Linked DNA regions of Homo sapiens: regions 2, 3, 4, 5 and 6 are each linked to region 1. The links are contacts of gene promoters, found by promoter capture Hi-C in human tissues and cell types (Jung and others, 2019). All regions are on one chromosome and are shown on one strand. Each heading gives the region's core, a stretch centred on a gene start or on the middle of the fragment in contact. The rest is flanking DNA. Distances are from core to core; before and after follow the strand shown.

Region 1 (4,454 bases), core at 343-2,842:
CCATTAGGCTTAGGGAGGGACTGGCCTTTCAAAGACGTTTAATCCCCAGATAAAAATCATTCCTCAGCATCACGCCATTGAAATCTGGCTGCTATTATGCCGAGCAAAATAATCGGAGGAAACGAGGAAAACTTGGGAATTTCCCGTGCTCCTGAAATATCTCCGAGCGTGTTCTCTGAGTAGAGCAGCCAGGGGGCCGTGAGGCCTTGGAGCGAACCGCCTTGGGCACCTGGAGTCCACTTTAATGGCTCAGTCCTAGACGTTTGGGAGCTTCCCATAGGATTAGCGGGGGCGCCTTCCCCTAATTGACTTGGTGCCCCGCCCCCTCCACTGGAACCTGAATGTCCCCACCCCTGAATCATCCATCCGCCCAAAGCACCAACTATCTGCCTCAAACTCAAAGGGCATGGGGAGGTAGAATTCTGTAGGAGCTTCGGAACCTCTAGGCAAAGAGGTACTTGAAAGGGAAGAGGGGCTGGGGGACACCAGCTCCTACTGCGAGAAAGTGAAACTCCGGGTGCAGGGAAGATACCGCACCACACACATTCATCCGCTGGGGTGAAGCCGATGAAACAGAGTTTGGGATCAGATGAGGGATCATGGACCCCTGAGGTCGTTTGGTGGGGGCAGGAGGACAGGGTGCCCAGACATCGGTGTCCTATCCGTTAACTCCCACCCGCAGCGTCTCTGGGCCAAGGCGAGGAGGTCTGGAACCTTCTTCCTGGGTGGGAGTGGAGGGAGGCGCAAGACCCGGCCTTGCAGCCCACGGCTCCCTAGCACCGGCTGCAGGTACGCAGGCGCCGGAGGCCACCAGGAGCCCTCGGGTCCCACACCCCACCCGGCCCCCACCCGGCCCCCTCCCTCTGCGCCTGGGTTCTGGCTACTCACTGGCCGGCGGCGGGGAGAAGCGGGGGCTCTGCATCCACGGGGTCCTCTCGGGCTTCTCGGGGCTCTCGGCTTTGACGAGCGCATCTTCTGGCAGCTTGAGGAGTCCCCCCACCGAGAAATGGCCGAGCGGCCGCGGCGAAGAGGGCGCGTCCGGGGCTCCCAGCGACCCCGGCGGGACGCCCAGTGGCTGCGCCGAGCCACCCGCCGCCTGCACGCCCTCGGAGGGCGCCAGGGCGCTCTCCTTGGCCCCCGGCTTCCTGTGGTCGGCCATGAGCGCCTCCACGCTGAAGGGCAGGAGCGAAGGGGACACTTTGGGCTTGGCCCCCTCCTCGTCCGCGCCCATGGCGGCTGCCGTGGCCGCGGCGGCGCTGGGGGCCTGGCCCGCGCCTCCCCCCGCCGGCTTGCCGAAGGCGGAGTCCTCCACTTTGACACCGAGTGGCAAAGAAGTCATGTCAGCAGCCGGGGCCATGCAGAGCCGGGCCCCCCCTTCTGCCGCAGCACTGGCCAGCCGCCGGGCATGGGCTCCGGGCGGGCTGGGAGCGCGGCCGGCCTCTGCGAGCGCCCGGGGCCCTGGCCGGGCGGACCCTCCCGCGCGCGCCTCCCGCCCCTCCCCAGCAGGCCAGCTCCGGCGTGCTGGGCCTGGCCTCCGGTCGCTGCCGCCGCGCAGGCAGAGTTCCCGGGAGCACTCGCCGGCTCCGGGCCCTACCGCGGCTCCCCAGAGAACTTGCTAATAAGGCGAGGCCAGCGGGGCGGCGGCCAATCAGCGCGCGAGGGGGCGGGCCCGGAGCGATCCATTGGGCCGCGCTCCTGGGGACTCGCCCGGAGGCGCGCTGGGCCTGGGGGCACGCAGGGCAGGGCCCAGGCGGCGGAGGGCAGGGGAGGAGAGGGGGTGCCCGGGAAACTTTCCTCTGCGCTGAAGCCCAAGAGGCCCTCTCTGCGGGAGTCCCCTGGGTCTCTATCTTTCTGTGTTCCCGGGGGATTTTCCCTTGTTCTCGTTCCTTCTCTTCTGCCCTCCTCTCCTCCCCTCCCCTCCCCTCCTCAGCCCTCTTTTCCGCTCCTCTTTTTTTCCCCGTCCTTGTTTCTCTCCTCTACTGCTTCTTTTACCTTTCTCTTTAGTCTGTGGCTGGGTTTCCCTGTGCCCCCCTCCACTGTCTGACCCCCCCTCTTCTTCTACCACAATAATTTGAGTTGAGGTTATTTCTTACACATTCCTTTTATATATAGTTTTTAAAATACGCATGGCTATTTATCCTAGGAGAAAGACATACTATTAACTTCTTTTCAAGAAACGAAACAAAACCAAACCTTCATTTTCTTCCTGTTCTGAAATCTTGTAAACTTTACCTCGAGGTAAAAGTGGGCCTTTGTCTCTAACTTAGAGCTGGAGTAAACCTTGCGGGAAGAAGCTAGCTTCCTGTAGTGCCAAGGATGTGAGAATACGTAAGATTATCTAGAATCTGCAGTCGGTTTTCATACACGATGTGTATTCCCCCCCCCCCACCCTCGCTCTGAACTTCTGTCCCAAGGGTCACAACACCTATAGCGCCCGGGCGGGGAAAGGAGCTGCCAGATCCTTTTGATATAGAACTTACTGAAATAAAACCAACAGAATCGTCAATGAAACACCGATCTGGCCTTAAGGTGACCTCAAACAACGCGTCCTCGGAAACAATGACATGTCCCTATCTCTGGGCCGCTGATCCTGGAGGGGAGAGGCACATTTGGGGGAGGGGGCTGGGAAAAGAGGAAAGTTCCTGGAGGTGGACTCTAGTGTGGGACTTGAGAACTCTTCTTTTGCCAATTTCGGAGAAAACGTGATTTAATGTTTGCTGTTAATAATAATAATAATAATAAAGACAGAAAAAATGAGTTGGGGTCAGGGGAGATGCAAGATCTGCCTGAAGCGGGGTCGGGGCTTGGCCATTTTCTGCGCCTGTCGCTTTATGGCCTCTCCTCCTGCGGCCCAGGCCAGCGGCTCTCAGGGAGTGAGCGGAGGTGATTGGCGGCTCACTCGGCCCTGCCATTGATGACTGCGGGGTTCTAATCTCCAGGAAACACAAGGGGCTGCCGTGGCCATTTAGGGGTAATTATCCGAGCGCGGAGGGACAGCGAATTCCCTCGACTTTTAACTGGGCGCAATAAAAGCTGTAGATTAGGGGCGTCCAGATTAGGGAAAATGAATTAGAGCGGGAACTTTATTATCCGGAAGACGTCCGGGGTCTGGCGGCAGGGGTCGGGCTGCGGACGCCGGAGCGATTGGTAGCCTCCCATCTGTCCACAGGCCGCCGAGATATGCTGAGGCCTGGGGAAGTTCGGGAATACCGGCATCTGAATTTTACGCACATCTCCAGGTTTCTAAAGGACCCAAGACTGCAACTCAGGCACTGGGCAGTGGTTGGGGCTTCTAGCTCGAGTTGGGCCGGCTGGACGCGCGGTGCACCGGGGCCTCCGGAGGTTTGCCCGAGAGGGTACAAGGATAGAAGACCTTAAGACCCAATTTTGAAGCTCAGCTCGCTGAGGCTGAGCAAGGCTGTAGGGCAAATACCTTGCTGGTAGCCCAGCCAGGACAGCGAACAACAGCATCTTCCTCTTCTTCCTCTTCTTCTTCTTCTTCCTCTTCCTCTTTTTCTTCCTCTTTTCTCCTCCTCCTCATCCTCCTCTTCCTCCTCTCCTCCTCATCTCCTCCTCCTCCTCCTCCTTCTTCTTCCTCTTCCTCTTCTTTGAGACGGAGTTTTGCTCTTGTCGCCCAGGCTGGAGTGCAATGGCGCGATCTCAGTTCACTCCAACCTCCGCCTCCCAGGTTCAAGCGATTCCAGGACGGCGAACTTCTATTGCTCCCGTTCTAATCAAACTCTCGTCAGAACAACCCCCTCCGCACCCAGCCAGAATCTCCCTTTGTGGCCAGGTTAAAGGGGGAGAGGAAACAGAGGCCTATCTGCTTTTGGGGCCATTTAAAAAGCGAGCAGTGTGCCTTTTCGAGTCTTTGCTTAGTTCCGCCCTCGCCCTCCTTCTGCAAATGTTTTGCTCCCAGGTCTCTTTAAGAATCTGATACAGCCAAGAACTTCTTCCCTAGAAAAATGCACACCTACAAAAACACATTACAAGCAACGGGGCAGACAACTTCGGGGGCTCTGGTCCCAAGTGGAGTCCTCCAGTTAAGAACCCCTGCTTTAGGGCTGAGCGGGGGCTTGAACTCAGAGAGCGAAGCCGCATGGTGCAGCGGGGGCTAGTGTGGAACTTGCGGCGGTCGCAGTTGAGGAGCGCAGCAAGGCCTGGACTCCGCCGCGGGGGGGGGGGGGGGGGCGGGGGGCCCGGGGGCGGGCGGCCTGAAAAGGGCCGCATCGCTAATTGCGGGGATAAACAATGTGTCACGATTCCTCAGCGCGCCTAATAGGCAGACTAGGATGTTGTTTTAAGGCGCCAGCGGCGGCCGGATCAAAGGCTGCACCCGGCGCACGGGCCCTTGAAGTCGCGCCCCTGCCTCCGGGGAGCAAATCGCCTGGCCCCGCAGCACCGGCCCCGCAGCCAGCCCCTCGGCTTCCCGAGCCGGGTCTGAACGCCACGGT
Region 2 (4,100 bases), core at 1,406-3,905, 250 kb after region 1:
AGCTAAGAAGATCCAGGGACAGCCCAATGACCTGCATGCCCAGATACTGCTCCATGTCTTCCCCCAATCCTTGTGGCTGCCATCTTAGATAGGAGGAGAACTCTGCACATCTGAGCACACAGCTGACGGAGACTAAGCAGACAACGAATTGTGGGAGGGATGGAGCTATCATGACCATCAAATTGTATGTCCCTCTCCCTTTCCACAGCTACCCAGCAGCATAGTTAGGCCATTTACCGGAAATATAGAAGCTTCGTTTTCTTCACCTGTTTGAGGAGTGGGGTATAAATCTGTGATACCATTCGGCTTGTTATTAGTATTGTTTTATCTTACTCTCTTGTTTTTTTTCTTTTTTTAGACAGAGTCTCACTCTGTCACCCAGGCTGGAGTACAGTGATCAGATCTCAGCTCACTGCAACCTCCGTCTCCCGGGTTCAAGCGATTCCCCTGCCTCAGCCTCCCAAGTAGCTGGGACTACACATGCATGCCACCATGCCTGACTAATTTTTGGGTTTTTTGTTGTTGTTGTTGTTTTTGAGATGGAGTTTCGCTCTATTGCACAGGCTGGAGTGCAGTGGCACGATCTCGGCTCACTGCAACCTCCACCTCCCAGGTTCAAGCGATTCTCCTGCCTCAGCCTCCCGAGTAGCTGGGATTACAGGCGCCTGCCACTACGCCCGGCTAATTTTTTGTGTTTTTAGTAGAGCCGGGGTTTCACCATGTTGGCCAGGCTGGTCTCAAATTCCTGACCTCAGATGATCCACCCGCCTCGGCCTTCCAAAGTGCTGGGATTACAGGTGTGAGCCACCACACCTGGCCAATTTTTATTGTTCTATCTCATGATCTGTTCTGTCATAAAATCCTCTCTCTAAAAGGAGACTCCTATGAAAACTTATTTTTTATTTATTTATTTTTTTGAGACGGAGTCTCGCTCTTTTGCCCAGGCTGGACTGCAGTGGCGCTATCTTGGCTCACTGCAAGCTCCGCCTCCCAGGTTCATGCCATTCTCCTGCCTCAGCCTCCTGAGTAGCTGCGATTACAGGCGCCCACCACCGCGCCTGGCTAATTTTTGTATTTTTAGTAGAAATGGGGTTTCACCGTGTTAGCCAAGATGGTCTCGATCTCCTGACCTCATGATCCACCCGCCTCAGCCTCCCAAAGTGCTGAGATTATAGGTGTCAGCCACTGCGCCTAGCCGAAAACTTATTTTTAAGAAGCTCCAATGCCAAAGAGAAGAAGTGGAGCTGATGAACTGAATTTCCTCCCAAGGCTTTTGGAGACTCATTGGCGTTTTAAGCAGGAGAATGGCTAAAGAGATGTATAGTTTGGGAAAATCTGGAGGCAGCGAGGGGAAGGCTTTGGGGAGAGGGCAAGATCCGAGGCACAGAGACTAGAATGTGCAATGGACCAGAAGAGAGGTGGAAAGCATCCTGGACCCAGAGAGCAGCCACATAGAAAACAGCTAAGGAGGGTACCAGGTGCAAGACATATTCCAACATCACGGCCTGCCTGCCTCCATCATCTGTTCTTGGGCAATAACCATACTGTCTCTGAACTTCAGTCTCCTATTCTATCAAATGGGGGCATAATACCTACCCAGCAGAGATGTCAGGAGCATTAAGTGAGATCACAGCTAAAGCACATCTCACGATGTTTCTCCCATTGCAACTGTTATTTCCTGCCCCCAACCATGTAAAGACTCATTTTCAAACAGCAATGGAGATGTCTAAGAGAGGTACACCCGTCTCTACTGCTGTTGTGAAAATAAACAAAAAGCCTCTGTCTTCCGTTTGGAGAAGAAATGATCTTTGAAGCAGCAAGCTGGAATCTGCAAGGCACAGGAGAATTTCATTCCAAGTCTATAAAAAGGCACTCGGAAAGAAAGCCTTCCACACGAGGGGCCTTCCCCAACCAGATCCAGATGTGTCTCGAGAACAACGTGCCTGAGGAATTAGGCCAGATCCAACATCATCAAATGAGACCATTCTCTCCTTCCACTTAACCATGAGAACTCAGGCAGGCTCCTGACTTCTCAGACCCCAGTTTCCCCATCTGGAAAGGTGCAACACCTTTGATGTTACGGAGTTGCTGTGAGCCCTGTGAAGCAGCATGGGGAAAGTAGAGAAATCCTGGGCATGCCATCTCCTGGGAGACTTTGGGCAGATGGTTAATTATCCAAGGCCTCAGTTTCCACATCTGTCAAATGGGCATAGTACTCCCTCTCTCACAAAGTTCATTCATTTTTTCCAAGTCTGAAGAATGGGCAGGTCTCTGCCAGGGATCTGGCTCAACTGTAGATGCTGGATTTGCCACCAGAAACACAGACAGAGCTGCTGTTATCATGGGGCTCAAAATCTCTGGTCAAGACCATCTGTGAGAATAGCACAGCCTGCCCAGCACAGAGACAGTTGGACGTGATAGCCAAAGATCCTCCGGAGCACGCCTGCCTGGGTTGGAATTCTCTTTCTACAACTAGCTGGCCAATTGCCCTTTGGCAAGTGTCTTAATCTTTCTGTGCCTGAATTTCCTCATCTGTACAATGGGACAAATCCCCTTTCATCAAAATGTTGTGGCTGGACACAGTGGCTCACGCCTGTAATCCCAGAACTTTGGGAGGCCGAGGCAGGTGGATCACTTGAGGTCAGGAGTTCGAAACCAGCCTGGCCAACATGGTGAAACCCTGTCTCTACTAAAAATACAAAAATTAGCTGGGTGTGATGGTGCACACCTGTAATCCCAGCTACTGGGGAGGCTGAGGCATGAGAATTGCTTGAGCCCAGGAAGCAGAGGTTGCAGTGAGCTGAGATCATGCCACTGCACTCCAGCCTAGGTGACAGAGTGAGACTCTGTCTCAAAAAACAAAACAAAACAAAACAAAACAACAACAACAACAAAAACTGTTGTGAGAACTCACTGAGTTAAGACGTGGCTGGCTCCTGACAGCTACCTGTGTGTTCTCTCTCCTAGTTATATTTTCTAGTGTCAGGCACTACGCAACCTGGCTCCAGTCTCCTTCCTGCCTCCACTCTTAATAATTTCCAGGCATGTACAGCCGTGCAAAATCTAGCAACAGCAAGCTACTCCCAGATTTCAAAAAATACTTTTGTGTCTCAAGTCCCCATACTCACCCTCAACTATTCCCTTGGTTCAGAATATATATCTGTATCACACTCCACCTGGTGAAGTCTCCCTCCTCCTTTAAGCGCCAGCTGAAACATCACCTCCTCCAGGAAGCCCTCTCTGATTTCAAAGTCAACAGCATCCCTCCCTCTCTCTCCTCTGTAGTCAGTGGAGGCACATCTGCAAATTTCTAGGGGGCACAGGATAAATCTTCACTATCTCTAAACCACTCTGCCCATTCCCAGGGCCAGGCCATGGTGGCTGCTCTGCCAGGGCTTATAGAACACATGAATGGATGAACGGATGATGCAGTGATAAGTCTTCCCACTAAAACATGGATATTGGGAGGCTTTATGAGGCAGGCAGATGATTCGCTCCATTGGACTGATGCTGAAGCTGAAGTTCTGTGGGGGTAGGATATTTACCAACTCCCACAGTCGTTAAGCAGTGGAAGGAAACAGTGGTGGGGTCTTAGCATTCAGCGCTCTACCAGTGGTGTGCATGTCGGCCTTAATCACACTATTTCATCCCTCCTCAATCAAGCAACTGTGAGCGTTTGTAAATATCTTTCACCTCTTTTCTATGCATAAATAAAAATAGGATAACATTTCAAAACTTGTCTTTTTTTTAAGAGGCATTGTATAATTCATATTACTGGCCAACTTCAGGGGGTGGTTATCTGGTTATTTGTTTGTTTGTTTTACTTAATAACATGTCAGGAAGAGCCCTCCAGATAATTATGTAGAAATCTAATTTTGGAAAGACTGGTATTCCAAAAAGCCATGTATCATAACGTATTTAACCTTTCCAGTTCCGGTGGACTTTCAGATTGCTTCCAGGTTTCTGCCACCACTAACAGTGTGGCAATAAACATCCTGTTCCTATGTCCTTATATTTTGGGGTTTTCATTTCTGTGGGAGAGATTCCCAGAAGTGGGATTGCTGGATCAAAGGGAATGTGTATTTCTCAATGTTAATAGA
Region 3 (4,249 bases), core at 1,400-3,899, 190 kb after region 1:
ATTTGGAGAGAGAGGAAGAAAAGGGGCCTTCCAGGGTAAGCGAACAGCTCCAGAAAATACGTCCAATGGAGAACGGCAGCCTAGACCTTCTCAGTCAAACCCCATCTTCTGCCCTCAAGCAGAGCCATTCCTGGTGCCTGGACAGTAGGGAACCCCATGGAAAAACGCGCTCGCTTCTTCTCAGGGCATTGGTTTTGGACAGTGGTTTGAAAGTGTTCTCCCCAAACCAGCAACATCAGCATGACCTGGGAGCTTACTAGAGACACAAATCCTCAGGTTCCACCCGAGACTTGTGGAATGAGAGCCTCTGCAGGAGGGGCCCCGCGATCTGCATTTTAACGAGCCCTGATTCTGATGCGCTGGAAGGGAAGGTCTGAGAACGTCATGTATGGGACTCTGATCAGCCCAATCAGCGAGAATGTTAGAATCTCAGGCCCCACCCCCGACCCACTGAATCAGAATCTGCATTTCACGAGATCCCCAGGAAATCGTATGCATATTAGCATTCGAAAAGCTGGGTGACACCCAAATTCGGAATGACGCCTCCTTGCAGCTGTAAAACTCCAACAGAAACTCTTGGGAAAATCACCCAACCTTTTATTTCTTCTTCTGAGAAAACTCCCAGGTGGGAGGGAAGGAAGCCCTTCAGGCTCAATTAGGGCCGTGAGACCCTTTGATTCTTTCCAATCTCCCGATAAGAATGCGGGGCCAAGGGGCGCTGGGGGCAGCCCTCTCCCAATAAGGGGAAAGTGCTTCCCTCCAGGAGGCAGGAAGCCAAACAGTGCTCTTCTGCCAGCTTGGCCAAGGAACGGCCCCCTCGTGGAGCCTCTGGAATTGGGAAGAAAATTCCTTGCAAATTCCACGGCCATCTCAAACCAGTGCGAAAACGCAAGGGCAGCCCAACGTGGTGCAGCCCAGCTCAAAATGAGTTCAAAACAATTACCAGCCAACATGTGTTTCCTATGAATGGTGCAAGTGTTAAAACGGATTTAATTTTCTTTTGTAAATAAAGAGGCCCATCCAGACCGGCCTGTTTATCTCCCTGGGAGAGATGAAAGTGTTTCATCTGCCAGTAGCCTCTGCCTGCTGCGGAGGTTGGGGGCAGCTCTCTGGACCCCATGTGTTCTCTATCTTGTAATCCAAAGTCATCTTTCCCATGTGGAACTGTTTGAGCACCATGAGGTCTTTTCTCGAAGTCTTACTTTTAGTTATCTAAAATAGTACTCCCTTTTTTTTTCTTAAACATATTAGTGATTCATAAACAGTAAAATTAGTCTGCTAGAAGCTGATGGAGGTATTCATCCTGGTGGCGCCTGCTTTCCTGGGTTAGTAGTTAAAATAAATCATTGCTGTCACAATGGAATTCAGGCCTAAAAATCACCTGTAGGAATCCTCACCATCCCCCCTTTCACCTCCCCCAGGCCTCCAGAGCATCTAGGATCAAAGCTATCTTCCTCACTCCAGCTGAGGGGGGAGAGAAGGGAGGAGAAGGAGGAGGAGGCCCAGAAGGAAAATCCCAGAAGTTATACCAAACCAGGAAATTAATGTCTTTGCTCTATTGTTGAAACTGGAAGCACAAAAGTATGAGGCCAATTTATGATATTAGTGTTTCTAAAGCAAAATATGATTAACCACTTCATTATGTAAAGTTGTTTCCACTTAACCTCTTTGTGCTGGCAACCAGAACTTTTTTTTTTTTTTAACTGCAAATTTAATAAATTCCAACATGCCCAAACTTCCTGACTTCCACTGTCCACCACTGGTTTCTTTGGAAACTTCAATAGCGAGAGATAACTGGCGAGGTCTGCTCTGCCTACCTTCACGGCACATGCCATAATCCAGGATCAGGCAAATAAGCTTTCATCTTCGAAGCACTTAAGTTAATTACATGGAGGCCGGTGGAGGCCCCAGAGCCAGTTCTGCGCACAGCCCTCCCAAAGCCAAACATCATAGGATCCAGATGCAAACCCTTGGCAACTTAAGCCCAACAAATTTCCTTTGTCAAGAAATGCAAACAGCCAAACATTGAAGCGTAGGCTACTTCAGTGAGTTGGCCTCCTTGGGTGCTAGGGCCTGCAGAGCCCAGGCCAGAAACCCAGATCAGAAATGATTCAAATGCGCAAGTGGTCGGGACCTAGCTGGTTCTCAGGAGGACCTTGGGTTGTTCGATTTCATTTTGGACGCGTAACCGACCATGCATGCTTGCCTCCTTTTGACATTTTGACAATTTGAAAGGAACACGTCCCAGAAGCAAGGATGTGAGGGGAATGTGTTGTGGGGGGCAGGGGGAATGCTGTTCCCCCATCCAGTGGAGTTCTCACTGCAGGGTTTCTGCCAAGACTGCTGCAACCTTCCACTCTTTCTGACTCCTTCCTATCTGTCCCATTTACAATCGTCTCTTTTTGTGGACCCCTCTACAGACCCAAGCACCATGTCTGGGGATGTCTGTGTCTGTCCTCTGTTCCCATTGCGCACTGCACAGCCCATGCTCATCATCTGGAATTTTCAGGATAGGGCAACCTCCTGTCCTGGCTGCAAGATCCAGGTTCCATGAAAGGGACATTCATGGCCGTTCTCATCCCTCCTGCCTTGCAGGGTGGCTTGGACTGCGTGGGTGAACCTGCCTGATTCTGGGGTGGCCAGAGGAGGTGCACTGGTGCAGCACTTATCCCACACAGTCACCAGCTTCTAGACAGAGCACAGTGGATACTTTGGTGCTGTCCACCTGACTTCAGTGGATTTAGAGCTCAGGCAGATTCAGAGGAGAGGGGTGTGCTTGGTTAGCATCTTACTGCAGGTTGAATTGTGTCTCCACAAAAGATATGTTCAAATCCTAGCCTGTAGTGCCTGTGAATGTCACCTTACTTGGAAATAGGCCCTTTGCAGATGCAATCAAGGTAAAATGAGGTCACATCAATTAGGATGGGTCCTAATCCCATGACTGGTGTCCTGTTAAGAAGAGGAAGATTTGGACACAGAAACAGACAAAGAAGGAGGCATGTGAAGAAAGAGGCAGAGATGGCAGCCATAAGCCAAGGAAGGCCAAGGATTACAAGCAATCACGGAGGCTGGAAGAGGAGAGAAAGGATCCCCCACCCCCAAGAGCTTCAGAGGGAACATGGACTCAGGACATGTGGATTTCACTTCCAGCTTCCAGAACTAGGGAGGAATCATTTCTGTTGTTTTAAGCCACCCAGTTTGTGGCACTTTGTACAGCAGCCACAGGAAACTAACGTACCTCCTAAAGCCTCAATGATAATCACCTGCTTATGGTTTCCCAAGTGCACTCTGAGCATTGCAGGGGGAGAAAACTATACCCTTTCCTCCCCCATGGCAAGCTTCATAGCAGACACCCCTATAAGAAAAGACATATTAACAAGAGAAAAGTGCGATGCATTGATTCCATCTAAGTTTTATGTGACATGCGAACCTTCAGAAATCAAGACTCAAAGACACAGGAAAACGATGCATTTTTCTGCCTAGGTTTGCTGGAGAGTGGACAGTCGTGTGATTGGAGAGAGGGGGTGTGATCTCAGGGTCCTAAACTGGAGGTGCTCAGCAAGGCCCTGTTTGTTCAGATGCGTCTTGGCAGTTCTGTGTCTTCATTCCTTTCCTCTGGGTACAGGTCAGGACACCTGTCACATGAGGGTCTCTACTTTCAGGGGAGTGGGTCAGAGAATCCTTTCATGCCAGTGGTCATACAGCAAGGCCTGGGAAAGGCAGACAGTGGCCTTCCTGCTTCTGATGTTTTCTCCATTTCCGAGGTGCTATGTCTTGGGGTGACATGTCCTGCACACTGTCAGCAACAGGGGGAGTAGGGACCAGGTTGTCCACAGCTTTGCCTGCTCTCTTTACTGGCACATAGTAGGGCTTCAGTATGAGCAGTGAAGCCTGCACTCGCTCAGCTGGACATATGAGCCCTGCTCACGAGTGTCCGGCTACCTCTTGCATTTCATCACCAGCCCCCAGGCCCCATCCGCTTAGCCTCAGCTACCCTGGGTCTTTGCATGTTCCTGGACTGGGACTGGGATGCCCTGCCAGCCCCCAGCCCTCAGCTAGTCTGTTCTCCCTCCCTGTCGAATCCATCCTGCTTCTACACCTGGCCAGCTCTCACTCAACTGGCAAGACCCAAGTGAAAGGACCCTGCTTCAAGGCTCCAACAGACCTTCCCCAAGCCCCATCCAGCCTGCTTCAGGGCCTCCCTCTGTGTCCCCACAGCCCCTCGCATAGCACCTGTCACACAGTACTG
Region 4 (4,140 bases), core at 1,303-3,802, 220 kb after region 1:
TGGGCAAGTTTTAACCTCTTTGAAGCTCAGTTTCTTCCACTTGTAAAGAAGTGATAATGGGCTGGGCGTGGTGGCTCACACCTTTAATCCCAGCACTTGGGGAGGTGGAAAGAGGCGGATTCCTTGAGCCCAAGAGTTCAAGACCAGCCTGAGCAACATGGCGAGACCCTGTCTCTACAAAAAAAAAAAAAAAAAAAAAAATACAAAAATTAGCTGAACATGGTGGTGCATGCCGGTAGTCCCAGCTATTTGAGAGGCTGAGGTGGGAGGATCGCTTGAGCCCAGGAGGTTGAGGCTGCAGTGAGCCTTGATTGTTGCATTGCACTCCAGCGTGGGCAACAGAGCAAGACCCCATCTCAAAAAAAAAAAAAAAAAGATTGCTGATGAAATTAATATAGCACTTCAGGACTGTGTCTGACACATGTCACTCAATAAATGGTAGTCATTTAAAAATTATTACTATTATGATTAATTCAGTACATTCCTCTAGGGCAAGAACCAGGTCTTATGTTTATTCCAAACATTTCACATACACACAATAAAGTTACTCAGTGTGTTTATAGAGAGAATCCTCTATATTTTTTAGTTTATTTATTTATGTATTTATTTTTGAGACAGGGTCTGGCTCTGTCGCCCAGGTTGGAGTGAAGTGGCATAATCTCAGCTCACTGCAACCTCTGCCTCCTGGGCTCAAGTGATCCTCCTACCTCAGCCTCCCAAGTAGCTGGGACCACAGGCATACACCACCATGCCTAGCTAATATTTTTGTATTTTTTGTAGAGGCAGCATTTTTCCATGTTGCCCAGGCTGGTCTCAAACTCCTGGGCTCAAGCAATCTGCCTGCCTTGGCCTCCCAAAATACTGGGATTATAGGCATGAGCCACCATGCCCAACCCATTTCTATTTTTTAAATTGATGTTTTGATTGAGATTATTGTGGATTCATGTGAAGTTGTAAGAAATAATACAGAAAGACTCCTTATGCACTTTGCTCACCCATGTAACATTTTCAAAACCATAGCATAATATCACAATCAGGATATTGGCATTGATTTAATCTACCAATCTTATTCATACTTTCCCAATATTACTTGTATTAGTGTCTGTGTATTAAATTCTACACAATTTCATCAGGATAGATTTGTGTATTTACCACCACAGTCAAGATACTGAATAGATCTAACACAATCCCCCCCATCCCCCACCCCATAGAAATCCTATTTATTTAAAGCTAGAGACCAGGCGTGGTGACTCATGCCTGTAATCCCAGCACTTTGGGAGGCTGAGGCAGGCAGATCACCTGAGGTCAGGAGTCCGAGACCAGCCTGGCCAACATGGTGAAACCCCAACTCTACTGAAAATACAAAAATTAGCCAGGCGTGGTGGTGCACGCCTGTAGTCCCAGCAACTCTGGAGGCTGGGGCAGGAGAATCGCTTGAACCTGGGAGACAGAGGTTGCAGTGGGCTGAGATTGTGCCACTGCACTCAAGCCTGGGTGATAGAGCAATGCAAAAAGTAGAGTTTCCTCTTCAAAGGCTTTCCTCCCCATCGAATTAAGAATAAATAGTAACTTCTCTCAGAAGCAAAATTTATTCAAAGACCTGTGCTAACATTCTTAAATATCTGCTAGCCGTAATAAAGAAATCAATGTACTTTATGTTCTTGGCTCCCACAATTTAGCCTAAATATTTGCCCTGGCATGCTTATACTGGTCCAAGCAAGCATTAGGTCATAGCATGTTCCTCTTCCTCATTTGAAGGTTTTTACCTTTCTCAACATTGCACAAAACAATCAGGACAAATACAGAATGTGAAGCCCGGTTCCAGCCAATGGAAACTGGACACAGCAGTAAGGTGGACACGTCAGGTTATAAATGACCCTGTCTCCTTTGTTCGGTGCACTCTCGTGGCAAAACTGCTGACGAGTGTACCCTTTCTACAGAAAGTAAAAAAAGGAAAAAAAGGCCTTGCTGAGGAAATTAAACTTATGTTCAAGTGCTATTTCTTTATGGCACCTAGGAACAAGCATTTCTAACAGTAAGACTCTGTCTCAAAAAAAAAAAAGAAAGACAAAAAAAAAAAATATTTAAAGCTAGAAATGCCCCTAGTTGGATTTTGTGAGTCAACAGATCATAAAGATTAAGAAAAGGCTCAGCATCTGCTGATCTGGGTTCAAATCCCAGCTACACAACTCACAGCGTGCGAACCTGGCAGGGCCTCTAAGATCTCAGTTTCCTCATCTGTGAAATGGGGAAACAACAGCACCAGCATTCAACAAAGCATTCCATAAATGCAAGCTGTTAGCCCAGCGTGGAGACCGATATTCTGGAAGTTGGTAATGAAGAAACTGAGGCCCCAGAGGCACAGACACTGGCCCAAGTTTGCACACGAAGCTGGGGACACAGCTGAGATGGGAGCCCAGACAGACGGGTTACAGCAAGATTCCTGACCAACCACGCAGGCGGGCCGCGCAGTCCAGCAGCCAAGAGAACAGGCTCTAGAGGCCACCTGCCTGGGTGAGTATCCCGAATATTAACTGAGACAAGCTACCTCAGTTTCCCCCATGGCTCAGTTGCCTCATCTGCAATGTGAGGATGACAATCAAGCTGTGGTATGGATTTGATGACATAATACAGGTCAAGTAATTAATTATCAGATGAAGAGCACAGTGTGTGGTTATTATTCATATTAAGCCAGTTTCTATAACTACTTGTCTTCACTAATTTTTTTTTTAAATTAAAATTATTGTAAGGGACTCTCTGGGCTAGGATGGCAAGGGGCAGACACGTCCAACAACGTGAGAATGTTATGGCAGAATCTGAGTATATTCCCTTAGAACCATAATAAACAATCAAACTAAAGGAGACCTCAGACAACCCATCTGGCCCAATCCTGTGTTTCCAGGCAAGCGCAGCGCCTGATTCCTCCACACAGAATTTCCTTCTTTTTGTGGCTGGATTAACTCTTGAATACCAAAAACTTCTGATCCTGTACTTGGAGCCTGTTGTTAAAATGTCATTTCCAAACAAACATAGGTTACAATCTTTTCTTCTCTCTCTCTCTTTTTTTCCTTTCCCCAAGATCAAAGAAGGCATTTGGGCCTTTAAGATAACATTCATTTGGAAAGAGATGGTAATATATAAGATTAATGAAAATTAACATAATCCCTCTGAGTAGAAGAGAGCCTTTGTTCAATCGCTTGTCCTGCTGTTAATTATGCGTTAGGTGGTGATAAATGCTTTAAATCAAACGATGCTGTGAAAACCATTTAAATGATTTTCACCTAATTAGGTTCCTTGCCCTGTTCTGAGCCAGGGATCCCTCCCCAGCGCACCCGCCTCCTTTTGATATGTAATGTACCAGGGGGAATCAGGGAACCCTGAGCTGGAGAAGGAACCTTTTCTGGCTTCTCTGGCTCTGACCAACCACCGTGGGCCCACTGTTGCGATTTATTTTTTCTGAGCGGCTTTGCAGATCTGAGATCAAAAGAAAATTTATCAGTTTCTGTCTCCCTTCAGCCCATTCCAGCCAGACTTTGTGACAAGACCCTATCAGACTTAAAGTTGAGAAGGCCCCAGCACGGAGAACAGAGAGAGAGAGCGAGAGAAGGTCCCAGTGAACTGTCACTGTCAGATTCGGCAGCGGAAATTGCTGCGTGGCACCCAGCCGGCCTTTGAAGGGGGCTGGGGCTGGCAGCCGCTGGACCGGGGTGGGGGAGAGCTAGTTTGTGCAACTCAAAGAGCCGGGGGTCACAGATCCATAAAGGCCCCCCAACTCTGTCGCTCCCTCTGAAGTTGAAATACCATCTGCGCGCCTGAAAGAAACTGGTTAAAGGTGAACTGGCTACTCTGGAGGGGAGGGAAGGGGTGGAGGAGTGAGAAACAGGCAAACATCCCAGACAGCTCCCAGGTCCTCAACAGGAGGTGTCCTGGGCTGAGAACTCTGGCCACCACAGTGAAAGTTTGGGGAGCAAATGAACGCCTCCTCCTGGGAGGCTCCGGGATTGAAATTCAGCACGTTCTAACTCGTGTCTTTCTTGCAGCAAAATGCGCACATCAGAAAATTCATTTGGAGGCAAATCAGCCACCACTATGGACTGGCCCTTAGTAGCCAGGTGGCACTGGATAAGGTGCTCAAGCTTC
Region 5 (4,290 bases), core at 1,082-3,581, 130 kb after region 1:
AGAGCCACAGGGGGAAAAGGAGCTCAGTTCTGGCCAGTGCCCTTCGGTGCTGATTCTGAACCCTTTATTGAGGAATTCGTACGGCCTTTTGCCATGTATTTTGTGATCTACTCAGCCAGTCCCCAGAAGGGCAAAACTTCCCTTATGATATCCTAAGATCTATATATTGTTACTATGAATAATAATAATACCTCACATGAGTTCAGCTCTTGACAATTTATGGACTTTTCACCTCCCCAAATGCAATTGGCTTTCACAGCAACCAGGCACAGACATTACAGTCCCTTTCAGAAATGAGGAAACTGAGGCTGAGAGAAATTCACTGACTTGCCCAGTCTTGTACAGAGTACATCAGACTTTTAATCAAGAACATCTAACCTCAAATCCTAGGCAAGTATTACCTCATGCCTGCAAGATTTTCTTATTTGGAGATAAAATTATTTAAATTTGAAAAAATTATGGGAAGGAAGCAGCTTGGTAATTTTAATATAAGGAACCTTTCCCAAACTATAAGTTATTTCCTTTCCAAAACAGGCTCATAAGTGGTTTTGCTATTTTTATATGATTCTCTGTGATGAAATCTGTTATAGGGTACACTTGCAGGTTCTACAGCACAGGAGGGGGAGGTGGGAAAAGCCCATTACCTGTCACTAAGCCCAGTCCTCAGAGAGATGCCCAGGATTTGCTCTAGGTTACCACAGAGTAAGAGGAGTCCTTCCCACCATCTTGCAATTGCAGATTGCTGGGTAACTGAGCCATGAAAAATAATCCTACCCATGTTCCTCCACTGGCCTCAGAGAAGGAATCCTGAAAGCAAATTGTTGTGGTGGAAAGACTCTTGTCTGCATGCCAAGGGGTTCTTTCTGGGGGATGAGAGCATTCCCATGGTTCCTAAGAAAGTATCCACAGAATTCATACATTTCCAGGTTAGCTTCGGTGCAGAAAATCATCTCCTTTCCAGGTTCTGATGGATGCTTGTGGGGTTGGTGACCATGAATGTGTTACTGAAGTTCTCTGTGCCTCAGCTTCCCCATATATAATACGGCATCAGGACCCACTTCCTCGGGTGGTTTGAGGATTTGTATATATGTATTAGTCTGTTCTCATATTGCTATAAAAAATACCTGAGACTGGGTAATTTATAAATTCCCCATGTAAAATAGGTCATGAGGACCCACTTCCTCGGGTGGTTTGAGGATATGTAGATATGTATTGGTCTGTTCTCATATTGCTATAAAAATACGTGAGACTGGGTAATTTATAAAGAAAAGAGGTTTAACTGTCTCATGGTTCTGCAGGCTGTACAGGAAGCATGGTGATTCTGCTTCTGGGGAGGCCTCAAGGAACTTGTACTCATGGTGGAAGGCAAACCAGAAGCAGGTGTCTTCATGTGGCTGGAACAGGAGGAGGAGAGGGAAGATGTGCTGCATGCTTTTAAACAACCAGATCTTGTGATAACTCACTCACTATCATGAGAACAGCACCAAGGGGACGGCGCTAAGGCATTCATGAAGAATCCACCCCCGTGATCCAGTCACCTCCCACCAGGGCCCACCTTCAACACTAGAGATTACAATTCGACACGAGATTTGGGTGGGGCACACATCAAAAACACATCAAGATATAATAGAGGTTAAACATCCAGCCAGCTCTGTCCTGACACATGGCAGGCACTTGATAAATGTCACCTTCCCGACCTTCCAAAGCACACACCCTTTCCCTCACCACCCAGGGAACACCCTTGACTCCAGAAAGAGGAGTGAGAACTCCCAAAGTTGTAAACATATGGTACTTGTTTAGAGATGGAAAGTGAAATGCTGCTTCAAACCTAAGCTGCCTCCTGGGAAAAGCCAGAAGGGAAACAAGAAGAAGTCACTGCTGAAGCTCTGTCACCTACAGCATGGGGGACTCTGCTAAAGCTTCTGCTATTTTTATGCATGCTGGAAAGTGAGGGGAGGAAGTCATCCCTTATTAATTTTTATGTAGCAACCTGTATTCTTTGTTTTACCAACTCCGGGCACAGTGGACACCTCTGAACTTTGCCAGTCAATCACCAAAGGCTTTTGTGTCCAACTAGCAGAAGCTCTTTTCCCTCTGAGGTCACCTTTCCACACACCTGAACCCACCCTGCACCTGTATCATAATCGTTTGAAATACTTAGAGGCTTGCTCAGTCTAGAAGGGGTCATTCCTGCTTCTGAGGTTCACTTGGAGAAGCGGAGTCTGATCTATTTACTGCTGTCATTGCCTTGCATGGCCACAGGTGTCACTGTTGAAGACAAACTCTGTGCAGCTTGCCTAACACACTTGCTCCTGCTGCTGGGCTGCACCTACTTATGGAGGCTACCATGCTGTCTCACTCTAGGCATCAACAATACAAATCTTGCAGTTCACATTCCCATATCTTTTGCTTAGCTGTTGTTCCCTCAAACACACCATTTGCAAGGGTGACTGGGTCCAAAATAATTTTCTGAATAGATCTCAACTTCTGCCCAAACCAGCTCCTTCCCTGTGAACACTCTGTGATGGTTCATTTTACACAACAGCTTGGCTGGGCCATAGTACCCAGATATTTGGTCAAACGTTTTTCTGGATGTTCCTATGAGGGTGTTTGGGGATGATGTTGACATCTAAGTTGGTGGACTTTGAGTAAAGCATGTTGCCATCTATAATGAGAGTGAGCCTCGTCCAATCAGTTGAAGGCCTGAATAGAACACAAAATTAACCTCCCCACTAAGCAAGAGGGAGTAGTGACAGCAGATGGTCTTCAGATTCAAACTGCAACATTGGCTCTTCCCTGGGTCTCCAGCCTGCAGGCCCACCCAGCAGATTTTGGATTTGCCAGCCTCCATAATTGTGATTGTGTCAGTTAGTTCTTCAAAATAAATCTCTCTCTCTCTCTCTCTGCATGCACACACGCACACACACACACACACACACACGCACACATCCTATTGGTGCTGTGTCTCTGAAGAACCCTCTATCCCTATATTGAGACTTCAGTCTGACTCTCCTGACTGTCACACAAGTTCTCCTTCAGTCTTTGATGCTTTCTCTACCTGCAGATCATAACCAGGTGACCTCCATCTTTCCTGACAGTAGACTGGGTCCCTGGGCTTTGTATGCAAGATGGTAACTTCCACACCATTGTCTAAAAATGAAGGTCTATTTGCCTTATACTGCACTGACAAACCAAGAGAGGCTGCCAAAGGATTCTTTCCTGGACAAAGATGATCTGCTCTGAGATGAATTGCCCACCTCTTAGGAGCCAAGAATCCCAGATTAGCTTCTAGTAACCAGAAGCCATCACAGACAGATCAGCTTTGGGCCTGCTAAAAGCACTTTGCATAAATTTTCTCACCTGATTGAATTCTCCGCTCACCCTGGGAGGTGGGTGTTTTACATGCACAATGAGAACACCAAGGTGAGTTGCTTCTCCAAGGTCACATAACCGGTTAGTGGCAAAGTTAATATGCCCCTTATAATCTGTAATAATGTTTTAATACAAGTGTTATTTCTTAATAGAAAAGAAAAATTGGATTTGTGCCTTAATCCTCAGCCCATCTTAGCTAACTTAGGACCAGACTACACTCCAAACTTTTAAAACCATTTTTGGATTGATCAGCCAAGAAAAAAAACGGCTTCTAGGGAGTGTGCTTAGCAATGCCAAGCTATTAACTTCCAGCAGAAGTCAACCATGATACTAAAATGAAAGTTTGATAATATCTATTATTTATCATATTGTTCCCTCCTCATCTCTTTATGATAAATGGATAGAGGCCCAGAAATCCTAATTGCCATGCTTTTTCCAGATGGGAAAAGTAATAATTTTCTCTGTTCTGCCTTTTTTGTATTTGAATGAAGTTTATGAGGAACTCGAGTTGACTCCATCTGGTTCTTATGGGAAAGCAGTTGGATGGTGTTCTGACTGTGTTCCAAATCTTTGGGATCAGTCTGCCATGAACTAGATATAGGACATGAGGAAGGTCACTCATCTTTCTAAGTCTCATTAAAAACAAGAGGCTGCTCTAAAGTCCCTTCCAAGTCTGATGGTCCATCTGCCTCTGGTTCTGCAGATACCTCCTCAGGGTTCAGCCAGGGGCAAACAGCTGCTCTGGAGAGATGGAGGCCCTGACACGGTCCAATATGGGTAACACCTTCACAATCAGAGCGTTTACAAGGCCCAGATGCTGATCCTGGCTCTACCGCCATTGGCTACAAAATCTTGGACAACTCATTTAACATCTTGGCATTTCCTTATCTGCATTTTCCACATTGGTAAGGTAGAGAT
Region 6 (4,069 bases), core at 1,228-3,727, 170 kb after region 1:
TGAAGTAGGGAAGTGACTTGTTCAAGATCACACAGTTAATTAGGCCCAAGACTGAGAGATTCTGGCCCTTTTCACTATGCTCCTCCCTCTTTTTAAGTTCCCTGGTGTCATTTATTGCTTCCTAAACTTGTAGCACAGAAACTAGATTATACCACCCACAGACCCTGCCCTGTGCTTGGGGGTCTGGGGTAGGGAAGGGAGGTAACACCTTTGTTTCTGGCTTGAGCTACATGTGGTGCTGCCTCAGTCAGTCTTCATCTCATGAATCCTCAAAAGATAGGAAGGTGGGTTCAGGTGAGTCTCACCCTCACCTGGACTCTAACACAACCCAGATACTGGAAGACTTGAAGTCAGCAAACTTAAGGTCTAGCTCTGATTCTGTCACTAACTGGTTGTGCAACTGGGCAAAAGTCACTTAATCTCTCTAAGTCTCCAAAATAACATGTGAGGGCCATTCTGTCTCTTTTATGGTTTATGGTTTATGGATGTTGGTGAGAGATAACATTCCAGGGCAAATGTTTTCCAAAGCCATCCTGGAGGCTCAGAAGCCCAAAAAGGCAATTCAAAAGAAAACTGCCTACAAAAAAAGGGAGGGCACAGAGAGCCCTGGTGCTTTCTGGAAGGTTCCTCACCTATAAAGCTTCTTCAGGAGCTGAGGGGAGCTTTGCACGCAGCTCCAGATGACGGGCTTCCATGCTGCCAGGCTGCCCAGTCACAGGAGAGGTAATGAGGCAAAGGCCCAGTTCCACCATGCCTCTTATTAAAACAGTACAAGAAACTGTCTAAACACTGGCCAGCTGCCAAGGCCACTGAGGCCTCCTGCAAGCTTGTCATTCCATGAGCTGAGAAGAGAGAACCATGCTGCTGCAAAACGGCAGGGAATTCTGCCAGCCAGGACACTTCAAAGACATTGATGTCCTTGTCCAGCAGACGTGGTGATTCCTGCAGCCTGCACAGAATGGACTTTTTACCCTGGAAGGCCCACTTTAAACAGACGCGAAGGAAGGAGAGTTAGAGCTGAGCGGCAGCAGGAGCTGGGAACTGGGGGAAGCCCTCAGGCCAAGGTCAGGGCTGGCAGGGGGAAGCCACTGAGTCAGCAGAATCCTCCAATCCCTGTTGCTATTCATCAACAACCACTAGGGGACAGGGGCTGATGGGGATCCATTGTGATTCTCACAACAGGCCTGCAGAGCAGATGCTGGGCCTAGCCCCACCTCACACAGGAGAAAACCGAGGCTCCAAAAATAAGGAAATTGCAACAGGCTTTCCAGAGGTGATTCCAGAATTTAAATCTAGGTCTGTCAACTCAAAGCTGGTGAGTCTCCTCTCAGCCTGCACTATTCCTGCTCCTGGCCATGGCACGACCCCAGAAGCCATTTAGTGACCCGAGGAGAAGAGGTGTGCCCCCCTCACTTCCCACCATCAAGGTTGAGTAGGTAGGCATTCCCACAGACTGGTTGCACCAAAGGGAAGGCGGCCAGCCTTTAGGAGCAATCAATGCCTGGCCCGCAGCATTCCACGGCCCAGAGCTCACTGCAGATCACTCTCAAACAAGCCATGAGCTCCCCTCTCTCTGGCTGCAGGGGCTTGTTTGGCTTGGCACACAGAGCAAGTCGGAAGTGCCAGGAAGTGAACATCCTAGGAGTGACCCTCAACCAATGAGGGAAAAGAGTTGGGGGATAAACACGCTATGCTCCTCACTCTGCATGGGACAGTTCTGAGCTGCACCTCCACATCCTCCTGCAGAGGCTCCCAGGGGGCTGAGCCCTGGTTGCCCTCAGCGAAGACTGAAGACCTGACCATCTCCCCCCTTGATTGACTTTCCCTCCCTTCTTGCCTCACTTTCCTTTCCTTCCCTGTGCTTTCTGGATCATCACCAAATAAACTGCTTGAACCAATCCTTGTCTCAGGATCTGTTTGGAGGGAATTTAAATTTAGATACCATCCTGTGAGCAACAGGTGCCATGCAAAAGGGGAACCCCCAAAAGAAAGAGGCAGAGGGAGCTCCAGGCCACATGTGCACTCAAAGCCTCACCTCTGACTCATTCTCAACTTCTTCCTGCCACTGGACTGCACTTTTTTTTTTTTTTTTTTGACACAGAGTTTTGCTCTTGTTGCCCAGGTTGGAGTTCAATGGCGCAATCTCAGCTCACTGCGACCTCTGCTTCCCGGATTCAAGCAATTCTCCTGCCTCAGCCTTCCAAGTAGCTGGGATTACAGGCATGTGCCACCATGCGAGGCTAATTTTGTATTTTCAGTAGAGATAGGATTTCCCCTTGTTGGTCAGACTGGTCTTGAACTCCTGACCTCAAGTGGTCCACCTGCCTCGACCTTCCGAAATGCTGGGATTACAGGCATGAGCCACTGCGCCTGGCCTGCACCTCTTTCAATTATCTGGGTACTCACCTGGTGACATGTTTCCACTTTCCTTCCCACTTTGTGTGATGGTTAATTATTATTATTATTTTTTAAGACCAAGTCCACTCTGTCACCCAAGGAGTGCAGTAGTAGAATCTCGGCTCACTGCAACCTCCACCTCCTGGATTCAATTGATTCTCATGCTTCTCAGCCTCTCGAGTAGCTGGGATTGTCCATGTGGGTGACACATGGACAGGCGCGTGTCACCATGCCCGGCTAATTTTTGTATTTTTTGTAGAGACAAGGTTCACTATGTTGGCCAGGCTGGTCTTGAACTCCTGACCTCAAATAATCCACCCGCCTCGGCCTCCCAAAGTGCTAGGATTACAGACATGAGCCACTGCGCCTGGCCGTGATGGTTAATTTTATGTGGCAGCTTAACTAGATCAAGGGGTGTCCAGATATTCTGCTAAACATTGTTTTTTGTGTGCCTGCCAGGGTGTTTCTGGATGAGATGAGCATTTAAATGGGTGAACTGAGAAAGGCAGGCGGGCCTCCTCAGTGCGGGTGGGCCTCGTCCAATCTGTTGCAGGCTCAAATAGAACAAAAGGTGGAAGAAGGGAGAATGTGTCCCTTTTCTTTGCCTGACGGGTTGAGCTGGGACTTGGGCTTTTCCTGCCCTCAGGCTGAGACATGCACCATCAGCCCTCCTGGTTCTTGGGCCTCTGGACTGCCCTGAACTCTACCGCCAGCTTTCTTGGGTCTCCAGTGTGGGGGATTTCGCAGCCTCCATAATCATGTGAGCCAATTCCTCATAATAAATTTTGTGTGTGTGTCTGCGTGTATGTATGTCTGTGTGCGCACATCCTGTGAATTCTGTTTCTCTGGAGAGCCCTGACTAATACACCTTGCCATCGAGATCAGACTTTGGGGCCAGTTCCAAGGTCCCTACATCACATTTACTGCCTGGAGTCACTTAGGTAGGTGCTATCCCTCAGACCCTGAGCCCAGACATGCCTTCCCCTGGGCCAGCCTTCTGGCGACAGGATTACCAAATGTGCCTCATTCTCACTTATTTTCTTCAACACTCAGGGGCATTTTACTCCACAGAGCAGCACATGTCTGCCTTGGGCCACTGGGTGGACAGTGATATCATTTAACAAAGGGAACACCCAGGGTGAAGAGCTGGTTTAGGGAAGGAAAAAGTGTTGAGCGGGAGGTCCTGAGGCACTGCTGGGAGAATGCCTCAGGGTGGCTTGAGCTATAAAGCTCAGGCTTAGCTGACTGAATGGATCTGAGAGGTTTTTGCCCAAGCAGCTGGTGGGCAAAGCCATCAGAGTGGGTGAGGGTCCCCAGAGGCCAAACCTGAGCCAGATTTTGAGGGGCCCAGAGTTTATACAATTTGGGGAATGGGGAAGAGCTTATTAAGAAACAAGACTGGGTGTGGTGGCTCACACCTGTAATCCCAGCACTTTGGGAGGCCAAGGTGGGCAGATCACCTGAGGTCAGGAGTTTTCAAGACCAACCTGGCCAACATGGTAAAACCCTGTCTCTACTAAAAATACAAAAAAATTAGCCAGGCTTGGTGGCAGGTGCCTGTAATCCCAGCTACTCAGGAGGCTGAGGCAGGAGAATCGCTTGAACCCAGGAGGCGGAGGTTGCAGTGAGCCTAGATTGCGTCTCTGTACTTCAGCCTGGGTGACAGATAGAG

The links. Contacts are between HindIII fragments. The study calls those that stand out against the background at their distance.
Region 2: a fragment that was not itself captured here is called in contact with the fragment with the promoter of MSX1 in region 1 in 3 of the 25 tissues and cell types used here (heart left ventricle, mesendoderm cells and thymus).
Region 3: a contact is called between a fragment that was not itself captured here and the fragment with the promoter of MSX1 in region 1, in 4 of the 25 tissues and cell types used here (H1 embryonic stem cells, dorsolateral prefrontal cortex, mesendoderm cells and 1 more).
Region 4: a fragment that was not itself captured here is called in contact with the fragment with the promoter of MSX1 in region 1 in 2 of the 25 tissues and cell types used here (dorsolateral prefrontal cortex and mesendoderm cells).
Region 5: a fragment that was not itself captured here is called in contact with the fragment with the promoter of MSX1 in region 1 in 1 of the 25 tissues and cell types used here (mesendoderm cells).
Region 6: a fragment that was not itself captured here is called in contact with the fragment with the promoter of MSX1 in region 1 in 2 of the 25 tissues and cell types used here (mesendoderm cells and thymus).

The regions. Positions count from the first base shown.
Region 1 is chr4:4,856,803-4,861,256 of GRCh38, reverse strand. It overlaps MSX1 (msh homeobox 1), which reads right to left and starts at 1,592. Exons shown (of 2, transcript NM_002448.3): 1 at 889-1,592. The coding sequence starts at 1,357. RefSeq lists silencers at 1,001-1,440, 1,451-1,690, 1,711-1,770. The HindIII fragment of the contact is 22,824 bases long and covers 1-4,454 here.
Region 2 is chr4:4,613,218-4,617,317 of GRCh38, reverse strand. The region is part of intron 3 of LOC124900165; the gene reads right to left. All of the region lies in intron 2 of STX18-AS1 (STX18 antisense RNA 1 (head to head)), which reads right to left. Among named protein-coding and RNA genes, the nearest start is that of LINC03091, 39 kb to the right of the region's middle. The HindIII fragment of the contact is 7,918 bases long and covers 1-4,100 here.
Region 3 is chr4:4,664,042-4,668,290 of GRCh38, reverse strand. The region is part of intron 5 of LOC124900165; the gene reads right to left. All of the region lies in intron 4 of STX18-AS1 (STX18 antisense RNA 1 (head to head)), which reads right to left. It overlaps SNORD162 (small nucleolar RNA, C/D box 162), which reads right to left and starts at 3,965; the gene lies at 3,868-3,965. RefSeq lists enhancers at 1,082-1,677, 2,580-3,080. The HindIII fragment of the contact is 3,847 bases long and covers 726-4,249 here.
Region 4 is chr4:4,641,588-4,645,727 of GRCh38, reverse strand. All of the region lies in intron 3 of LOC124900165, which reads right to left. All of the region lies in intron 2 of STX18-AS1 (STX18 antisense RNA 1 (head to head)), which reads right to left. Among named protein-coding and RNA genes, the nearest start is that of SNORD162, 21 kb to the left of the region's middle. RefSeq lists an enhancer at 2,827-3,744. The HindIII fragment of the contact is 4,554 bases long and covers 276-4,140 here.
Region 5 is chr4:4,724,246-4,728,535 of GRCh38, reverse strand. All of the region lies in intron 5 of LOC124900165, which reads right to left. Among named protein-coding and RNA genes, the nearest start is that of SNORD162, 62 kb to the right of the region's middle. The HindIII fragment of the contact is 4,671 bases long and covers 1-4,290 here.
Region 6 is chr4:4,691,395-4,695,463 of GRCh38, reverse strand. All of the region lies in intron 5 of LOC124900165, which reads right to left. The region is part of intron 4 of STX18-AS1 (STX18 antisense RNA 1 (head to head)); the gene reads right to left. Among named protein-coding and RNA genes, the nearest start is that of SNORD162, 29 kb to the right of the region's middle. The HindIII fragment of the contact is 3,488 bases long and covers 734-4,069 here.